Regions from separate parts of the Homo sapiens genome. Here region 2 is linked to region 1. The links are contacts of gene promoters, found by promoter capture Hi-C in blood cells and fetal thymus (Javierre and others, 2016). All regions are on one chromosome and are shown on one strand. The core of a region is centred on a gene start or on the middle of the fragment in contact, and the rest is flanking DNA. Distances in the headings are between cores, read along the strand shown.

What was found. Contacts are between HindIII fragments. The CHiCAGO score rates a contact against its expected background, and 5 or more counts as called.
Region 2: a contact is called between a fragment that was not itself captured here and the fragment with the promoter of GLDN in region 1, in 1 of 17 cell types (M1 macrophages). The highest score is 6.5, in M1 macrophages.

The regions. Positions count from the first base shown.
Region 1 is chr15:51,340,405-51,344,717 of GRCh38, reverse strand. GLDN (gliomedin) reads right to left here and starts at 3,063. Exons shown (of 10, transcript NM_181789.4): 1 at 2,671-3,063. The coding sequence starts at 3,033. RefSeq lists cis regulatory regions at 3,882-3,906, 3,979-4,022 and an enhancer at 3,712-4,075. The HindIII fragment of the contact is 3,655 bases long and covers 1,548-4,313 here.
Region 2 is chr15:50,973,468-50,977,780 of GRCh38, reverse strand. The region is part of intron 15 of AP4E1 (adaptor related protein complex 4 subunit epsilon 1); the gene reads right to left. Among named protein-coding and RNA genes, the nearest start is that of MIR4713HG, 62 kb to the left of the region's middle. The HindIII fragment of the contact is 961 bases long and covers 1,332-2,292 here.

The DNA of each region.
Region 1 (4,313 bases), core at 1,814-4,313:
TGTTGACATTAGTCTGCATAGAGTTTGTTTCTTCGTTCCTAGACCTCTAAGGACATAAGACCTCACAGTGAGGACCTTGGATCTCACTCTCATTCAAGATCTGGTGGTGTATAAAAGGGCCAGGGAAGGTGTAGCCTTCACCTATAAGAAGTGTATACACTTGCCTCCACGATATATACTAGATCATTCTCTTAACTTCTCTCCAAGAGCTACCAAATGATGTTTTTTATAAAATTGTTTTCTTATATGAATAATTGTTCTGAGAAAAGCAGAGAGTAAAGATGAGGAAAACTGTGAAGCTGAATGGAAAGAATATTGCTGTCATAAATTAAAAAGCTTTTCAGTAATAAAATTGGCTCCTCGTCCTGAAGCAAAGGCCTTGATGGGGTCTGGTGGGAGTGTGATGCCTAACACAGCTACTATCGATAGGAAGTTATGCCAAGGTCCTTCCTGCTGGAGAATAAGCACTCCATCCCCAGGCTGTGGCCTAACAAATTAATTCAGAATCTCTGGGGATGGGATTCAGGCATCAGTAAGTTTGAAAGCTCCCCAAATAGTTCCAGTAGGCAACCTTACTACTCAAAATGTGGTCTTCAGGCCAGTAGCATTGGTAGCAGTGGGAGCTTGGTAGAAACGCAGAATCTTAGGCCCCAGCTTAGACCATCTGAATCAGAATCTGCATATTAACAAGATCCCCAAGATATTCCTGTGCACAATAAAGACTCAGTGTTAGAGACTGAGTAGTATTTCTTAAAGTGTGGTGCCTGGACCATCTGCACCGAACTCACCAATGGCATAGGAGGTGGGGGGATGAGGGTCAGAGGACTTCTAATAAAGCAGATTCTGGAGAGGATTCTATAGGTCTGAGGGAGAGGCCCTGGAATCTGCACTGTAATATGCTTCCAGCTGATTCCTAAGCCTACTGTTTGAGAACTGCTCCCAAGAGGAAAGTGAGTAGTAAGATGATTGCCTTCTCCTAGCCTCAGGGACAGGCCCTCATGACTCTAAAAGGTCAAAACATACCCATTGCAGGTGGGGGATGAGTTAGTTGATGATAATCTACTAATAATATCCAGTCTGACACATGTGATAGTTCTGCTCTCTGACCTGTAACAGAGTTAGTGGTAGCACTGCGAGGTCACCTAGAGTTAATTTGACACAGAGATGAGTGTCTCCATTCAATTTGTTAGTGACGGAATAGGTTGCAATTCGGATACGAAAGCTTCTACCTTAAAAGCAGGATTAAAAATGTAAAACAATGATGCTCAGATGTATCCCTTTTTGAGGATTTTTTAAAAGCCTTAAAATGTAGGGTAGAGAGCTGAAAGGGCGAGAATGAATTCCCCTAAGGAGGTTTTTTTCATCTTATAGCAGTCCTTTTTTGAAACTTCTGCTTAGGTCCAGATTTTTAAATGATAACATGAATTTAAAAAACAAATGAAGTGAGGAATGGAAAACTTGATCTCTCTCAAAAGATGTATTTGAAGTATGTAGTACTTTTACGTAGTTTTAAAAGCATTTCAGCTCATGTAAGTTATTTAAAAGCTTCTGTGATAACGGAAGTTTAAGTCAATTTATTTTCAAATACCTAGGATTCTGAAGTATGGCTCACACTTGACTGGAGGTAATAGCCGAAATCTTTCTAATTATAAAGTGAAACAAGACTGTTGCAATTGTAATAAATAATGAAATGGAATGGGGAACTGCAATGTGATCTAATAGTATTTGTTAAATACCTATTGAATTAAAAGCGGCAAAAGCAAAGAAACTTAACACTGGAAAACAAATCTTTGAGGCTTTGAAGACTTTCTTCAGAGCAGTGTTTCTTAAACCTTTTGGGGGAGGCATGCAATGGGGGACCCCTTGAAGATCTAGTGAAAAGCTGCAGACCCTCATCCACATGGGCAGGAGGGCACAGGCACACACACTTGGCAATTTCTGCAGTTCCGTGTACTCCCTGGAGCCCAGTGGGGAGACCAATCCGCAGGTCCCATGTTAAGAACCTCAGCTTTGACACTGCATTTTAAGAAAAAAATTGCACCATATTGACGTCCCTCATTTGGAATTGCTTGAGATCCAGGGGCAACTTTCCCAGCATCTAGGTCCCAGGTGGGCAGTAAAACTAGGGCTGTTTTCACTTAAACGGAAACAATTAGGCCGGCCATCTCGCAGGAATGAGGCGATGCCAGGTGAAAAGCCAGACCACTAGTTGATGCCAGGGAAAGAATCCCTTTATTGAAAAAGCCTACGCTCTTTCAGAAACGCGCCTCCATCCTCTCAGAGGGCCCCACCCACAGGTCAGTGGCACAGGCGGAGCCCCAAGGCTGCTGCGGCTCCATTCACACCAGGAGACGAAAACTTGTCTAAGCTGAGAAGGAAAATAGGCTCTTAGAAACACTGCCTTCGCCCTTCGTTTACATGTGGACTCAAAGAATGTCAGAGGTAGAAGAGACTCCCTCCTTCACCCTGTCCCCAACCTCACAGATGAGAAAACAGACTCCAGTGGGTTGAGGTGCTTGCCAAGGTGACATCCCCAGCTACTCATGCCCACAGCCCTCTCCGCAGCACCTCGCAGCCTGGCCAGGGGAGAAGAGGGCGTCGGCGTCCTCGCCCCACACCCCCAGCCGCCCACCTGGCCGGGGCGCCACGGGGAACAGAGACCCCGCCTACCGGCACCATGGAGTAGGTCATCATCATCAGCATGTCATGGCTCTCGGCGCGGATATGCGGCGCGGGCTCGCCGCTGTGGCTGCGCTTGTTGCGAGCTGAGCTGGCCGGGTCTTGGGGTGGTGCGGACGCCCCGCGCGGCGCGCGGCTCAACTCGGCCAGGAAGGAGCGCAGGGCACTGTCCTCGCGCTGCTCCCGGCCCCGCTGCGCCTCCAAAGCCCGCAGCGCCGAGCTCAGCCCGCGCCACTGGCACAGCGCGAACACCGTGCCCGCAGCGTTGAGCGCCGAGAGCAGCGCCACGGCCGCCAGGGCGCCACGCAGGCCCCAACCCGCGTCCCCACGGCCTCCCTCAGCGCCTCGGGCCATGCTCTATGCGCCTTGGGCAGGGCAGGGCTTGGCAGCCTGCGGCCCTGGCAGCCTTTATACGCCTCGGGCAAGCCGTGGGCTGGTGGCAGCGTCGTGAGTCAAGTCACCCTTTGGCCCAGCTGGCGGGGCGGGATGGGGACAGTAGTGGTGGCGCCCGAGCAGCCCAGAGGGACAGGCGGGCAGAAGCAGGAGAGGAGCCAGTGGAGGCAGCCTGCGGAGGAGGGGCTGGCAGGGCTCGTGCTCCCAGAGTCCCGCCAGCTGAGCAAACCCTCTCCTCCTCTTCCCACTGCTCTGCCTGAGGGCATTGCCGTGGCCCAGACAGGCAAAGCAAGGGTCAGACTGAGGGGGAGAGCAGGAATTCTTATGGAGAGAAGTCTCCGGATTCCACCCCCTTCTACCCCCACACTGCCCTCTTGGAGAAAAAGATCAGCATGCCCAGATGCTAAGGCACGTGCCCACTGTCCATGGGAGGTCTGGTCCTGGCCCGAGCACCAGGCTGCGCATCACTCCCCACCATGGCCATGAGGCTCCACGAGGCCACTGAAGACCCCAGATGATCTTTCCCAGGAAGGGGATGGATAGGGGCAAGGAGACACTTGGCACTGGAAGGCAAAAAAGGCCACCCATCAGAACCAGAAAAGCCCAGGACTGCCTGGCCAACAGGACTCGTCCTTGAAAGGAGAGTTCCAGGATTTGACAAGTCAGGAACTCTCCGATGAGATCCATATCTGGAAAATGGCAGGATGGTGAGGAAAAAAACCCCAGGAATCAGGAGACCTAGTTCTAAAGCCACTCTGTTGCTACTCAGCTGGGAGGCTTTGAGCATGTCCCAAGACCATGAGGAGGTGCTTTCTGGCCTAAGGGTTGGAGAGCTGGGCCATGGTTGGGTTCTTACCTAGCCCTAGGAAAACATGTTTTCCCATGCCTCTCATTTACTCCTCACAACTTTTATGTTGCCCAATACCTGCTCTGCCTCGAGGGTCACTGTCAACCAAATGCAGAGTCACTTTTGAGTCTCCTCAGAGAACCTCTTCACTCAAGATCTTTCTCAGCTTCTCCTAGAATGGCTCTGCTTCCCTGGGGCCCCAGGACCTATGGGAAACTAACGTAGACAGCAATCTTCAAGCCCCATGTTAAGAACCTCGGGTTTGACATTGTTTAAGAAAAAAAAAAAATCACTCTGTTTGGATGTCTCCCATTTGGGAGACCCAACCAGAAGGCAGGATTGCTGTTTCCATAGCCCAATAACTCAAGGAAGAGGTGCCTCCCCGCCAATGAGC
Region 2 (4,313 bases), core at 563-3,062, 370 kb after region 1:
CCAAAAGATTGCAACACTGCACTCCAGCCTGGACAACAGAGAGAGACTCTGTCTAAAAAAAAAAAAAAAAAAAACCATAACAGATTGATAATTAAAAGATTCAAGAATTAATTCTTTATGCATAAAATACCTATTTCCCCCTACTCTTTATTTTGTCTTATAGCCAACCCCATTTCTAAGATATATAATTTTATAATTTATTCCACAAGTATTTATTAAATACTTGCTATATCTTGTCTCATAACCAATTTCCTTTTCTATAACAGTCTCCTGAAATTTCAGTTTTGCTTTAAAGGACTTTTGAAGCACACAGATTTGGGAGGAGAGAGGGAGAATCTAGTTTGAGCGTTTAATCCCATTTATAATGTGGTTCTATGGGAAAAAATGTACTTGGCAAAGGACTGCATAAGCTTGGGGAATTCCAGGGCTCTTGTATTTGTGTCAGCTATTTAGCTTATTTTAAGAAACAAAATAGGCAGTGCCAGGAAATAGTCTCCCTATTATATCTCCCCTTCCCTATCCAACCCTTGACTTCAGTAATGGCAACTGGTGGCCCCCAGATACCTGAAAATAAGGAAGTATGACAACGGAATCATACCTCCCACTGTGGAAACCCAGGAGCTTTTCACTCTAGGCCCTGGATGTCATAAGGCATTTATATGCAGTATAACCACAGGTTAGGCAATTATAATTCAAAAGTTTACTTTTTCCCCCAATATATTCTATTAATATATAAAAAGTTAATGAGAGGAAACTGATTACACTTTGAAAGAGAGTTTAAATTTTATAGTACATTAGTTATCACTGTGCTAAATAACATATAAAAAGCCTTAAAAGAAAGGGATTGCACAGAATACATGTACTTTCCAATCCATGAACACAGGATGTATTTCCATTTATTTGTGCCTTGTTTGATTTCTTTCATTAACGTTCAGTGGTTTTCATTAAACACAACTTTCTCACTTGCTTCAGTTTATTATTAGGTATTTTGTTCCTTTTGGTGCTATCATAAATTGGGCTGTCTTCCTAATAACCTTGTCACATGGTTTGTTGTTAGTGTACAAAAATGCAAATAATTTTTGCATGTTGACTTTGCATCCTACAACTTTCCAGAATTCGCTTATTACTTCTAACGGTTTTTTAATGGAGTCTAATTTAGGGTTTTCTATAAATAAAACCATATTATCTGCAAAGAGGAACAATTTTCCTTTCCAATCTGAATACCTCTCTTCTTTTTCTTAACTGCTCTGGCTAATACTTCCAGTACTGTGTTGACTACAAAAGAGACAAGTGGGCATCCTTGCTTTGCTCCTGATCTCAGAGGAAAAGCTTTTGGTTTTTCATCATACCATGCTATGATGTTAGCTCTGGGTTTATCATATATGGTCTTTATTATATTGAGATATTGCCTTCTATTCTTAGTTTTATTGAGTTTCTTTTTAATCATGAAAGGGTATTCAATTTTGTCAAACACTTTTTCTGCTTTTATTGAGAACTGTGTGGTTTTTATCCTTTATTCTGTTAACATGATATCACATTAATTTATTTTCAGATGTTGAACCATCCTTGGATCCCTAGGATAAATCCCACTTGATCATGGTGTATGATCCTTTTATTGAGTTCAGTTTCCTAGTATTTTGCCTATATTCATCAGGGATATTGGCCTGTAGTTTTCTTTTTTTTGTGGTGGCTCTGTCTGGCTTTGCTATCAGGGTAAGGCTGGTCTCATAAAATAAGTTTAGAAATGTTCTCTCCTCTTTAAATTTTTGGAAGAGGTTGAAAAGAACTCTCTCTCTCTTTCTCTCTCTCTCTCTCTCTCTCTCTGTCCCTTTTGTAGAGATGGGGTCAAGCTATATTGTCTAGGCTGGTATCAAACTCCTGGCTTCAAGTGATCCTCCCACCATGGCCTCCCAAATTGCTAGGACTACAGGCATGAGCCACTGTGCCCAGCCCCAATATTAATTCATTAAGTGTTTGGTAGAATTCACCAATGAAGAACCACAAAAGACCATGAATACCCAAATTAATCTTGAGAAAAAAGAGCAAAGCTGAAGGCATCACACTTACTGATTTCAAAATATATTACAAATCTACAATAATCAAAACAGCATAGTACTGGCATAAAGACAGACATAGAGACAGAACAGAGAGCCCAGAAATAAATCCAAGCATGTATAGTCAACTAATATTGAACAAGGACACCAAGAATACACAACAGAGAAAGGACAGTCTTCTCAACAAACAACATTGGGAAAACCAAATATTCACATGCAAAAGAATAAAATGGAAGCTTTATCTTATACCATACATAAAAATCAACTCAAAATGAACTAAGGACTTAACTGTAAGACCCAAAACTGTAAAACTCATAGAAAGAGATGAAGTTTTGCTCTTGTTGCTCAGGCTGGAGTGCAATGGTACAATCTCAGCTCACTGCAACCTCCACCTCCCGGGTTCAAGTGATTCTCCTGCCTCAGCCTCTCAAGTAGCTGGCATTACAAGCATGCACCACCACGCCTGGCTAATTTTGTATTTTCAGTAGAGATGAGGTATCTCCATGTTGGTCTGGCTGGTCTCGAACTCCCGACCTCAGGTGGTCCACCCACCTCAGCCTCCTAAAGTACTGGGATTACAGGTGTGAGCCACCGCGCCCAGCTGGTAAAAGCTGCTTTATGACATTGGTCTTTACAATAATTTCATGGATATGACACCAAAAATACAGGTAATAATAACAAAAATAAACAAGTGGCAATACATCAAATTAAAAAGCTTCTGCATAGCAAAGAAAACACTCAACAGAGTGAAAAGGCAACCTATGGAATAGGAGAAAATATTTGCAAACCACATTTCTGGTAAGGGTTAACCTCCAAAATATGTTAATCCTATGACTCAATAGTTTTTTTTTTTTAACTAATAACCTGATCACAAATAGGCCAATAACTTAAATAAACATTTCTCTAAAGAAGACATACACATGGCCAACAGGTATATGAAAAAATGCTCAAGGTTACTATTAGCAAGAAAATACAAACTGAAACCATAATAAGGCATCACCTTGTACCAGTCAGGATGGTGATTATCAAAGAAAAGAAAACATAACGTGTCAGGAAGGATGTGAAGAAGTCAGAACCCTTACCCATTGTTGATGGGAATGCAAAATGGTGCAACCACTGTGGAAAGCAGTATGGAGGTTCCTCAAAAAAATAAAAATACAGGCAGTACACAGTGGCTCATGCCTATAATCCCAGTGCTTTGCAACGTCAAGGTAGGAGGATCACTTGAGCTCAAGAGTTTGAGACCAGTCTGGGCAACATTAGGGAGACTCTGTCTCTACAAAAAATTAAAAATGAACCAGGCATGATGGCATGCACCTGGAATCCTAGATACTCAGGAAGCTGAGGCAGTAGGATCACTTGAGCCCAGGAGTTCAAGGCTACAGTGAACTATGATCGTTCTACTGCACTCCAGCCTAGGTGACAGAATGAGACACTGTCTCAAAAAAAAAAAAAAAAAATGGCCGGGCACAGTGGCTCATACCTGTAATCCCAGCACTTTGGGAAGCCAAGACAGGTGGATCACTTGAAGTCAGGAGTTTGAGACCAGCCTGGCCAACATGGCAAAACCCTGTCTCTACTAAAAATACAACAATTAGCCAGGTGTGGTGACTCATGCTTGTAGTCCCAGCTACCCAGGAGGCTGAGGCAGGAGAATCACTTGAACCCAGGAGGCAGAGGTTGCAGTGAGCTGAGATCGTACCACTGCACTCCAGCCTAGGCGACAGAGCAAGATTCTGTCTCTAAATAAATAAAAATACAACTACTATATGCTCCAACAATCTCACTTCCGGGTGGGTATTTATCCCAAATAATTGAAATCAGGATCCAAAAGAGATATTAGCATTCCCATGTTCACTGCAGCACTATTCATAATAACCAAGACGTGAAAACAACTTAAATGTTCATCAGTAGGTGAATGGATAAAGATGATGTCATATACATATACAATGGAATACTATTAAACTTTGAAAACGAAGAAAATTCTGCAATATACGACAACATAGATGAAACTTAAGAATATTATGCTAAGTGAAATAAGTAAGGCACAAAAAAATATTGCATGGGTCCACTTTTATGAGGTACCTAAAAGGTCAAATTCATAGGATTGAGGAATGGACTGGTTGCTGCCAGAGGCTAAGGGGAGAGAGAAATGGGGACTTACCAATCAATGGGCATGAAGTTTTAGTTAAACAAGATGAATAAGTGCTAGAGATCTGCTGTACAACATTGTATCTACAGTCAATCATAACGTATTAT